Regions from separate parts of the Homo sapiens genome. Here region 2 is linked to region 1. The links are contacts of gene promoters, found by promoter capture Hi-C in blood cells and fetal thymus (Javierre and others, 2016). All regions are on one chromosome and are shown on one strand. The core of a region is centred on a gene start or on the middle of the fragment in contact, and the rest is flanking DNA. Distances in the headings are between cores, read along the strand shown.

Region 1 (5,819 bases), core at 572-3,071:
ATGATCACACCTCACCCTAAAACTTTTCTAGACCATCCCCATCCTATTCTCTCTGAGTCCATTTATCCTTCCCCAGAGTGCTGCAGAGAAGACACAGCTATGATGAGTTATTCATGGAGTCCACGTTCTCCCCACTAGCCTTCTTGAGGCAGGGCCCAATTGTATCTTCTTTGACCTTTCCAAAACTGAAGGTTGGGACTGACTCCACGGTGCTGGCCTGTCTATGGCCCACCCCAAACCTCAATGTTGAAAATCGATCCCATTCCTGACCTGGAAAATGCCTTCTGAGTTGGGGATTATGAACAGGGATGGATAAAAAGGAGGGGACTTGGACGAAGTGGCTTCACATCCATTTAGACTGACTCCAAGGAGAGGCTGATTAATCGGATTTAGGCTGAGGACCGAAAAGGGGTGAGTAACATGGAAGGAACCCTGTGCTTCCAATGGGCTTCCTGAGAAGTGGACAGAATTTTGGAAACGGAATCCTAGACTCATAAGAACTTAATTAAAGTGAAGACCCAGAGGATTTTAGAAACAAAAGCTCAGAGCTTGCAAAAATGTGAGTTATGCATGTTGGGAAGTTGGAGACAGAAATCGCTCGCTTTGAGTCTATCCCTACACCTGGCTTCTGCCTCCTTCCCCACCCACTCCCACTCCCTGGGTAGAGGAGAGGTCTACAGAGCCCACCCCAGTACATACTGTCAAAGGAGATAAGCATGCTGGGTCATCCCACTCCTGGCCTCAGTATCCCCACTCCAGGTGTGGGCCACACACCTGCTGGAAATAGACTGAGGCTCTAGAGAATTCTACCTCTTCTTCTGAATTAGCAGTCCCCAGCTTTCTCCAACTACCAGGTTTCCTCAGGCTAATGAGGACAGTGGGTCCTGGGTAGTGAGGCTGCCCCAGGGGAGGAAATTTCAGAGAACAGCTTGTGGATTTTTCAGCTTCTCCAAGCATCCCCTCTGAGGCCCTCAGCTTCATTGTGCCCCATGCACTCCCACCCCCAAACTCTCCCCTGCAGATGGAGAAACGGGGGTCCAGGAGCAGGTAAGGACTCAGGGTCCTGAGTGTTCTGCACTGTCACTCCAGAGCTCTTTCTAGCACAGATCTCTGCCTCTTCTACCAATGCCCTGAATCCAAGTGGCCATTTCTACCTGCCTGTATCATTCTTGGGGTAGAAGAGCCCCCCACAGCAGTTCTTCAGGACCAGGACCACCCAGCTGCCTCTCTCCTTTCTCCTTGTCTCTCTCCCTGGGAACTTGCACAGCCCACCCAGACGCTGGGCATTTTTTTCTGTGACGCCCTCCCTCTTAGGCCCTACTGAAGGGGAGCAGCTCAGGCACGGAGGTGACATAGATGTAGCAAGGCGACCCTCGAGGTGGCAGTGGGGAGAAAGTGCGAGCTCGGGGAGAGAGACCTTCCTCCCTTAGTCATTCTGCCCGCCTGAAGCACCAGGTCTCGGCTCTCCAACAGATGGAACTACGAGACGACGACGGTCGGGGGCGGGGTCCCGGCGGCGGAGGGGGCGGCAAAAGGGGTTCAGGAGGTCTCTCGCACCTGGGGATTGCCCATCTGGCGGGGAGCCTGGGAAAAGGGGTGCATTGCACTGAGCGCTGGACACCGAGGGGCTAGGTTTTTTCTCCCGGCCCCCGGCCCGGAGGCTCACTCACCTTCGACTTCTCTTGTCCCCGGCTCTGCGAGACGAAGCCGGCCAGGAGCAGGGAAAGCAGGCAGGACGCCTGCAGCAGCCGGGCCATGGCGGGGTGGGGGCACACTCAGGGTCGCCTGAGCCGCTGCCTGATCCCTGGCCACCGTCCGTCTGAGGTGTCCGGCGCTCCCAGCCACCTTTCAAGCCCTCGGGTGTGACCAATCCGCGGCCAAGCCGAGACCCTTGCAGCCAATCGCTAGGCGGCTGGGATTTCAGGGGCGGGCGCGACTTGCCCTCAGCTCCCCACCTCCCCGTCCCGGGGCGACAGTGACATAAGCAAATCTGGGCAGAGAGGTGGAAGTCAGGTCCCTGTGGACGTGGGAGGCGGTCCCTTCCTCTTTTGGCTCCAAAGTGCGAAAGGAGGCAGACACAGCGGTCTCCATTACAGCCAGGGCAAGGGGGCTAATAGCTCCCTAGAACTGATGGAAGTCTCCATTCTGGGAAGCATTTCTTATTCCTATCGAGGTTTTAAAAACACCTGGCGATGGTCCTCTGGAAATTGAGGGTTTAAAATTTCAGCAAGAGCTGAAGTTAAACTTCCAGAAACATTTACTATATATAGGTTTAGTGCTTAAGAAACAAAGAGTGGGTGTCCTGGGATTTTGAAAACCCCATTCTGGGTAGGGCATTAGGACTGTAGGGACAGAGAAGGTGGGGTGCCTTTCCTCCCCATCATAAGGATCACAGCTGACATGCCTGTAGAAAAAGGTTAGCAAGAGAAAAGCATAACGATTTATTTAATTAAAGTTTTCTGTGACATGAGAGTCTTCAGAAATGAAGACCCAAAGACTCAAGGAAAACTCTATTTTTAGGCTTAGATTCTATGAAGACCATGGAAATGCGCAGAAATGTGAGTGGGGAAAAAGGGAATGGTCTAATAGTAATAAACTGAGTGGGAAACCCAGCAAGGCTTGTCTGTTCGTATTCTTCTTGGCCTATCTGTGGCCAAACCACCTGGCTTAGAAGCAGAAAATAAATTTGCTCCCTGTGTAGTCTTTAACATGTTGCAGTTACTCTCTGGGCCTCAGTTTCCTCAGCTATGTAATGATGGGATTGATTAGTGATCTCCAGTGCCCTTCTGGCTCTGGCTAGATGACTTGTTTCTAAAGTAAGTGACAGACGGAGACCAGGAGTCCTTTGAGAATAGGGCCCATAATCACCACCTGGCACAGGGCCTAGCACACAAGAGATGTAAAGTATTTGCTGACTTAATCATTCATTACATTAAAAAAACAAAATCTCCATGGAACACTTAGGATCAGACCAGGCAGTTCTAGGGCTGGGCTGTCTAGGTATGATCCCGTTCACAGATGGGGAATGTGATGGAATCAGTCTCAAATCTCTCTGACCACCAGAGTCAACTGGGAAGCCTTTAATACAGATTCCTGGACCCCACTTTGGAATCACTGCATTAGAATCTCTAGGGGCAGAAGCTGAAAATCTGTCTTCAGACATGTTCTAAGGTTATTGTGAGGCAGTTGGCCTGGCTGTAGCCTTGGTAGTGTGAGTCCTAGGATTAAGTGCCTTCTGGAACTTTCTTCTGACCAAGAAATGCCTTGAGAAACCATACCTTTACTATGATTAAAGGTATTAACATCCCCCTGGGAATTTGGAAGATGTCTCTCAAGTTTTGCATTCTCTACGAAGTCTTCCCACCTCAAACCACAGCCTGTTGAAGTGGAAGGAACCACAGAGGCCAGGAAGTCTTTAGCTGAGTTAAAGCCTGGGAGCATATGAACAATGGCTGACACACAGTAAGTGCTCAATACGTTTTATTCAACCACCTCATTTCCCTGAAGCCTAGAGATGAGGAGCAATTTATCCAAGTTCCCATAACCAACTGATGGCAGGGAGGGAACCAGAATCCAGGTCTCTAGACTCAGTCTCAGGCCCTCTCCATGTTGTTCTGTTGTCTTTTAAGGTTCGTATTTACCCTAAAATATAAACATCTGTGTGCACATCAGTTTGTCAGAAATCCATTGTTCATTAGTATCAGTAGGCATCTAGTGACCCTCAAAATAGGCACCTAGCAACATGTTAACACCATGAGAGATGCTAAAGAGTTGTCTAAAAGCCAAAGTCCCTGCTCTCAAAGGTGTTTCCAGCAGATACCAGCAGGGTGAGGGAAGGGAAGGCACCTAGGGTCACACAAGTGCAGGCTGGCACCTGGCAGCGGGCATCTCTCTACATTTTGCACCCTCTATGTCTCACTTGTCTCACCTTAATCCCAGCCCTGGTGGTCTATTTCTTTAGGGGAGACAAGAAGGAGCCAGAGACCTGAGATGCTACCCCTGGATTGCTACGGAAAGTAATAAAATTACTTTCCTTCTCTGATCTCAGTTGTCCACCTATTTAACAAGGATCTTTGACAGTCTCTCAGTGGTGGTGTCTGTGGCTTTTCATTCCTAAGAGTATAAGGAAAGCCTGAGCCATACAAAACAGGAGTACAAAACTGATGACATGGACAGTGGGGTGGGGAGGCTTGGGGAGCCTGCCCTGGCATTAAGAAGGGCTTTCATGCTGCAGTGAGCTTTCAAAGGAGGTCTAACCATTGGCACAAAGAGCATGACAGTGAAAACAATGAGAATGAAAACAATACTTCCCAATCTTTTCATCAGCAGCCTTTTAAATACATTTGGTTGACTTGTTTTCAAGGACCCTATGTTTTGAAATATATCGTTCTCCACCAGGCTGCTTCTGATTGCCCTCAGGTTAAAGTCTAAATTCCTTAGCACTTCAGAAAGTGCCCTCAAAATCCATCTGCTTCTTCCTCTTTTGCCACACTCTCCATATTCTCTCTGCCTCCGCTACACTGGACATTTTTCCGTTCTTGCAGTCTGCCATTCTCCCTCACTTCCAGGTTTCATCTCTGCTGTTCCCTGTGCTTGGAACAGAGGTTGTCTCCCTTTAACTGGTACTATCCTACTCATTTTTCATATCTCCACTAATGTCACGTCTTAAGACAGGGGTTTCGTGATGGTTCCCTTGTTTTCCTGTAGTTCCTAGAGTATTTGACACTTTGTACATCGACCCTTTGTTGTACTTTATCATCATTTCTTGTTTGTCTATTTTCTGCACTAAATTATAAGATCCAAAAAGGCACCAGCACCAGCACAGAGCTTAATACATAGTAGTTGCTTGATACATATCTATCAAATAAATTAATGTCAAGGAAAACAATATTTGGCATATAGAATAAGGAGAGCTTCAAGTTAGCAAGTTGTAACCATGTAGAGCCCGCAAGACTGGTCTGATTTCATCTTCTAGGAAGATTCAAGACGTGCGGGTTATGATGAGTAGGCTTGTCAGAGGAGAGTAGATGATTTGCATTGGCCAAAATGGGAAGGGAGGGATGGAAGGAGAAGCTGTAGAAGAATCATAAGCTAGTTTTGCTTCCAGTCTGAGAACACGTCTTCCGCATTCCAGACAAGTGAGCACTCGGAACCTCTTCATCCTATTTTTTAGAGACCTCTATAGGGAGCTCACTACTTACCTACTTGGTAGGTGAACAGAGACCGAAGATGACTTAAAAAGAGGTTTTACAAAAAGTGCTGATGCACTGTGTCTTCAAGGAAGATAGAACACAAATTAATAAACTCAAAGGATTGTAAAAAGTTAAAACAACGAAAGCCAGCCTTATTATTGGTTAGTAAACATTTCAGGTTCTGAACTCAAAGATGGGATCAGCCACTCTAACTGATGAGCCTAGGTGGAAGCAGAAGTGAGGCCCAGCCTGCGTCACTTCAGTGCCAACTTCAAACAGTAGCCCTTGTTTTGCAATCGAGAGAAATTGCAGAACCGAGCTGGGGCCCTGGAGCTGCCAATTTCCTAAATAATTGGCAAATTTGATCTCAGGGCCAGCCAGAAGACAGGGAGTTCATCAAGAGGAGAGGTGGGTGGCTGTAGTTTTTGCTTGTGAAACTAGTGCCTTCCAAACTCTGGGCTGCAGTTTTCTCATTTATGGAACGAGGTGTTAGACAAGTTGATCTCCATGGGCCAAGCTTTAGCATAAAGAGAGTAGCAGCCAGCATTCACTCAATATCCTATCTATACCAGGTGCTGCCTTAGATTAATTAATCTCTGCAACCTCTTGAGGTAGCCAACATTATTA
Region 2 (6,399 bases), core at 378-2,877, 100 kb before region 1:
AACACTTGGTCCACACAAAAAAGCATGGGACCTTGGAGCTCTCTGTTACTTATTCGCTATGTAACCTTTGGAAGGTGCCCCCTCCCTCTGGGCCTCTATGTCTCCATCTTTAAAGTGAGGGGTTAACATGGCAATCTCGGTGATCTCTTAGGGCTCTTGAGCTCTGATGTTCTAGGACAGTGTTCCCCAAATGATAAGGCAAGAGATCTTTGCAGATGATTGTAGGTGATGTGAGAAGTGAATTTAGTTTGGCAGGGTTGAATAACGCTGAACTCCACAGAGTGAATGAGAAAGGCACTCCTTTCCAATTTCATCAGCGTTTCTGATTACGTCAAAGAGGAAGTCTTGGTTTGGTGCCGCCGTCTCTGCAACACTTGCTGATTTTCCTTTTTCACAAAGAGAAAGCTGAGAGAGCTCGCTTTAAGTTTCAGAGCTTCTGGCAAGTAGAGGCATCATGTTAAATTTCATGGTATATCACCTCTTTTGTTTTTATTATGTTGATTTTTGTGGTAAATTGTCAGTTTATGATACATGGTATCAACTTCCTAATTCATGGTAGTTATATAAAATTAATTTCATCCATTCCTTTTTTTTTTTTTTTTTTTGAGACAGGGTCTCACTCTGTTATCCAGGCTGGAGTACAGTGGCATGATCATGGCTCACTGCCACCTCCCCAGGCTCAGGTGATCCTTCCACTTAGCTTCCCAAGTAGCTGGGACCTCAGGTGGACACCACCACACCTGGCTAATTTGTGTAGAGACAGGGTTTCACCATGTTGCCTGGGCTCATCTTGAACCAATGGGCTCAAGCGATCCTCCTGCCTTGGCCTCCCAAAGTGCTGAGATTACAGGCATGAGCCATTGTGCCAAGCCTCATTAATCCACTTAACAATTATTTTTTGAGTGTGCCTATTATGTCAGACACTGTTGTAGGCACCTGGGATATGTAACAGGATAAAACGGATACAATTCCTTGCCTTTTGGGAGTAATTTTAAATGCACTTCAAAAATTGATGCATTTAAGTAGACAGAAAAGAAGTTGAATTACATAAAACCATTAAGAGATGGCATAGTGTGTGTGCTAATTTGGAATAGTGAAAGTCCTTTAGGAGTGACTGAAATTTGGGAAACTCTGTTCTGGTATTTCAGAACTTTTCTGCTGCCTTTTCAGGGGGAATGACTCTTTAAGAGGCAGAGGGGGCCTCGGGGGCAGGGTAGGATTCAGAAGAATTGGGGATGCCCCGGTGGAATAAGCAGCCAAGGGGCACTAGAACCGAGGCAGATCCCGTGGCAGGCGGGAGCCTAGCCAATTTCTCTTGATCAGGACTTGCCCTGCTCCCAGCCCTGAGTCCCTCTCTCCCTCTCTCTATATCTTTCTGTCTCTTTCTCTCTCTCTCTCTCTCTCTCTCTCAGCTCTCGTGCAGGGTCTGTCTGCTGTGGCTTCACCTCTGCCTCTTTCCCCACCCACGCCGCTTGGTTTGGGCTCATGGGGTGAGCTTCCCACCCTCGCATGCTGTCTTTCAGCCTGGTCCCCAGGGGGGCCTTCAGACACCTGCTGAGTCTCTTTCTGCTTCTCACAGCTGAAGGGAACTGTGCGCCCAGCCAATGACTTCAACCCTGACGCAGATGCCAAAGCGCTGCGGAAAGCCATGAAGGGACTCGGTATGGGGGATGGGAAGGGAGCAGGGTTGGTCTCCAGGGCAGCAGGTGTGGTGGGTTTGGCCGTGGGCTGGCAGGGGATGGAGTGAGGTTTCAAATTAGAGTCTGCAGGATGAGGAAGGCTTGATCTCAAGTTTCCACCCTCCTAGCTCCCAGAGTATAGAGAGGAGGGGCAGGAGAGGGTTCATAAGGAACTTGGCAGAAGCCCTTTCCAGGGACCAAGGTGTCCCCCAGCCTCCTGGAAGCAGTATCCTGGCACTGAAGAAAGTACCAGGTCACAAAATTGGCATGGTGCCCTGGCTCTGCTGCTGACTCACCGTGTGACTCTGGGTGAGCCTCTCCGCCACTCTGGGTCTGAATTTCCCTATGTGTAAAATCAGGGCTGTGGACCCTGGAACCCAAGAGCCCTCCCTCATTCTGTGGTGGGAGTGTGCCCTGCTGGGCAGGTCTTTCAGACCTATATTTGGCACCAGTGGGAAGAGTACTGCACCCACAGGTTCAGATCAGCTGGGCCTGTGCTCAGAAAGTCCAGCCTGGGACAGGCCATCTAGGGTTTGGCTTTCTTTGCCTTTCTGCCCCATCTGTCTGACAGCAACTCCCAGGAGGCTTTAGGTTAAGTCCATCACCCTCCTGAGCCTCCTTTCCATGTGTCTCATGGGAATGATGATACCTGCCAAGCTCGCCTGGGACTGTAGGATGCTAGAGGTAAAAATGCCATGAAAGACCCCTGTGCTGGGTCTGTGGTTGATGGCATTAATCTGAGAAGCAGGAAGTGATATTCTAATGCCTTCCAGAGTCAACCTGCTGTGGTTAGAGGGACTCAGGGTCCAGCTTCCAGAGAGCTGAAGAGAAAGGACATAGAGTTGCTAACAGGACTTGGACTGTCAGGGTTGGAAGGATCCCTTGGTGACTACTCCAGCCTCTTCATGTTACAGATGTGGAAACCAAGTCCCATCAAGGGAAGGGGACTTGCCCAGGGTGGGCAGCCATTGCCAGAGCCAGAACTAGAACTCAGAGGCACTGACTCCCAACCCAGTGCTCTCTACCTCCCAGCTGTCCTTTTTCCTCAGCGTGTCAAAAGGAAAGGGAGGGAGGAGTCCAGCAGAAATCAGTGGCCTGAGCCATAGGCAAGCGGACTGCAGGGACTCAGGAGCACATGGCCGCTTAGCCAGGCTTCTACCCTGACAAAGATCGATGAGGGGCCATCAGTGGGCGGTGCATGGGGAAAGCCGAGAGCCACAGGCCTTCTTCTGAGGCATGTGGCTTTGGTGACTCAGGGACTGACGAAGACACAATCATCGATATCATCACGCACCGCAGCAATGTCCAGCGGCAGCAGATCCGGCAGACCTTCAAGTCTCACTTTGGCCGGGTAAGGACCTCCTCCTGGGCTCTCTGTGCAACATGCATGCACCTTGCCTGATTGAGCTCAGCCTGTCCCCATCGGTTCTGCACAGTTGGGCACCAGGGTCTTCATGGCAGAGGGACCCTGTGTGGTCATATGATCTCAGAGTGTCTCCAGCACTGGGTTTGGGCAGACATATCTTTCCATGCCCCCAGTTCCTTGTGATGGGCAACACTTGTGTGAGTTGCTCAGTGGACTCAGAGGCACAGCATGGGGCCAAGATCAGGGCTATGAGTTGTTTTCAGTGTGCTTTGGGCATCTTGCAATTCCTCTGCACAGACAGAGCTGGCTTCAAGGCCCCAACTGAGTGTCAGGGATTATTGCACATTGGTGGCATCTGGCTTAGGTTGATGCATTTCCCCCTGAGTGGAAACAGTGTCCTTCAGCTCTGCTGCCTTCCCGTTCCTGTCTCCTGTGTCAAGGAGAGTGGGTCTTCCTCCTGGTTGTTTTTTCCCTACCCTCTTTGGCTTCATCTAAATAATAAGTACAACATCAGCAAAGACAGACACAAGCTTCCATGATCCCTCATGTGGAACCCCTGTTTTCTCTTTCCATCTCTCCCATCCTGAGTCATGTGTGGGCAAGTGCTGATGTTGGCATGACTGTGGCTCTGCCCTTTGCAGGACTTAATGACTGACCTGAAGTCTGAGATCTCTGGAGACCTGGCAAGGCTGATTCTGGGGCTCATGATGCCACCGGCCCATTACGATGCCAAGCAGTTGAAGAAGGCCATGGAGGTACAGTGTGGCACCAGGGGGTCTAGTGTCTGCGGGTGCCAATAGGGATACAGGTGATCCTCATAAGCCCAGGTGGATTAGCTGTAACTTCTTGGTAGAACTCCTCCCATACTCAGTTCAAACTGGCATAAACACAAAAGGAGATGTTGGCTCCTATAACTGAAAACTACAGGACTAGCTCTGAGTCCAGAGACTCAAATGATGTTCTGTGGACCCTTGGCTCACCCCTGTCTTGGCTCTGCTGTCCTCCCTTCTGGCTTCACTCTCAGGCAGCCTTTCTCCTCATGGTGGCATATGTCCATCCCGCCAGCTAGCGGCTCCAGCAGAAAGAGTTCCTTCTTCCTAGGAGCTCCAACAACAGGCTTGGCATTTACTCCAAGTTGATTCAGCTTAAGTCACATGCCCACTGGTGTCAGAAGGGTCTCATGGAGCCGCTGGAGGAAGTGGGGTGGGTCTCGAACGAAAGCACCAGCAGTTGGAGTCTGTACTCCAGCCTAGACCTGCCACTCACTCACAGTGTGACTGGGCCATTCCTTACACTTCCCAATCCTCTGTGCCTTCATCTGGGAAATGGAAATGGTCACCTCTGCCCTTCAAACTAGGACAGGTCAATCAAGGTCACAGGTATGAAGGGCATTGTTAACTCCGAAGACCTGACCCTACATTAAACAAGAAAGCATTATGTCCTGGCCCAGAAGTTGCTAGAACTGCTTTGCTTCCCAAGGTACCAATTGTACTAATGGCTACTGTTTATAAAGAGCATATGGTAACTCTCCCAGGTTAGGTACATTAGTTCAATTAGTTGCCTCCTCAAGCCACAAGGCAGGGCTCTTATTTTGTCCCCATTTTACAGATGAGGAAACTGAGACTTGGAGGTTAAGTTGCTTGGTCATGGTCATAGAGCTATGAAGTAGCAAAGCTGAGGTTCAGACCAGTCTTTCTGACTCTAGAGCCTGTCTTGACAACCGCATAAAACCAGTAGTGCTTTTGGCCCCTTGCGCATTAAGAGGAGGGCAGCAATGGGGAGCTAGAGGACTTTATAAAAACATTGCCTAGGCTAAGCAGATTGAGATGATTGTTTCTTAAAATACCTAAGCCAAAAAGCAAACGATCTAAAGACACAGGGTTCAGAAATAGAAGAGATCGATGAGGTAACCCAACTGAATCCTTTCCATTTTCAAAGTTTCCAAGTGGGAAACAGAGAGGCTCAGAGAGTCAGTGAGTTAGGGGGAGACGAGGGCTAGACCCAGTCTCAGGACTTTCTTGATTGCCTCACCACACACCTGCTTCTAACAAAGAAATGATTGAAGATCTCAATCAGGATGAATCTCCTAGGATCTGAGAAGGCAGGACCATTAGAGCACTAGGCAGTAACCTCTTTGAGGACAGAGAACATGTCTTGCCTCTTGCCTTTCTCTTTTTTTTTTTGAGACGGAGTCTCGCTCTTTCGCCCAGGCTGGAGTGCAGTGGTGTGATCTCGGTTCACTGCAACCTCCACCTCCCAGGTTCAAGCGATTCTCCTGCCTCAGCCTCCTGAGTAGCTGGGATTACAGGCGCACGCCACCACGACCAGCTAATTTTTTTGTCTTTCTAGTAGAGAAGGGGTTTCACCATGTTTGCCAGCGTGGTCTTGAACTCCTGACCTCAAGTGATCTGCCCTCTTCAGCTTCCTAAAGTGCTGGGATTACAGGTGTGAGCCACCACGCCCGGACTTTTTTTTTTTTTTTTTTGTAGTTGTAGCCCCAGCACCTTGCACAGTGGCTAGCACATAATAGGTGTCTTAACAAGTACCTGAATGAGTGAATTAGTCATTGACTCATTCAGTCAATCAATCAGTCAATCTTGCCTGCCTCCTCTCCTCCCTGATAGTTTCCCTGCTTCCCTGTGTGCAGATCTTTGCATGACAGGTCCCCAGCCTGCCTTAGTCCAGGGCATGTAACGCCTCAGTTCATAAATCACTCCTCAAATCCAAGAGTAAACAAATGTAAGCCAGCCATGATGGCTCACGTCTGTATTCCTAAAACTTTGGGCTTGAGTCCAGGAGTTCCAGACCAGCCTGGACAATATGGTGAAGCCCTGTCTCTACAAAAAATACAAAAATTAGCCAAGCATGGTGGCATGCTTCTGTGGCCCCAGCTACTTGGGAGGCTGAAGTAGGAGAATCACCTGAGTCTGGGAGGCGGAGGTTGCAGTGAGCCGTAATCATGCCACTGCACTCCAGCCTGGGCGACAGAGCAAGACTCTGTCTCAAAAGAAAAAAAATTTAGCATTTTATCTTAAGCACAAAACTTTTTTTCTTCTAACAAAATAATACATGTTCACTGTGGAGACTTGAAGAAATAGAGTAAAAAAGAAGAAAATAGCAATCATCTGTGATCCTTCACTCACACAGAGACCAAACTGCTAGTTAACACTGTGAGGCATGTGCGTGTCCTTCTGTTCTCTTCCAATACTTACAAGTAGAAATTTCTATTCAGATGTTCATGTGTATATGTGGTGTTATACACACACGCCTATATACCTTTTCTGTTTGGGGGGCTGGAAGGCAAAGCAGTTCACATGGGAGGTTCTGGGGATCTTGAGAGGCTGGCATAGTCAG

The links. The method cuts DNA at HindIII sites, captures the fragments that hold promoters and counts their contacts. A CHiCAGO score of 5 or more calls a contact.
Region 2: a fragment that was not itself captured here is called in contact with the fragment with the promoter of GPX3 in region 1 in 5 of 17 cell types (M1 macrophages, M2 macrophages, M0 macrophages and 2 more); the score reaches 8.1 in M1 macrophages.

What each region holds. Positions count from the first base shown.
Region 1 is chr5:151,016,593-151,022,411 of GRCh38, reverse strand. GPX3 (glutathione peroxidase 3) reads right to left here and starts at 1,821. Exons shown (of 5, transcript NM_002084.5): 1 at 1,671-1,821. The coding sequence starts at 1,757. RefSeq lists an enhancer at 1-376. The HindIII fragment of the contact is 15,890 bases long and covers 1-5,711 here.
Region 2 is chr5:151,119,548-151,125,946 of GRCh38, reverse strand. It overlaps ANXA6 (annexin A6), which reads left to right. Exons shown (of 26, transcript NM_001155.5): 15 at 1,580-1,661; 16 at 2,936-3,030; 17 at 3,687-3,800. Among named protein-coding and RNA genes, the nearest start is that of ANXA6, 35 kb to the left of the region's middle. RefSeq lists an enhancer at 1,602-2,102. The HindIII fragment of the contact is 3,901 bases long and covers 1-3,577 here.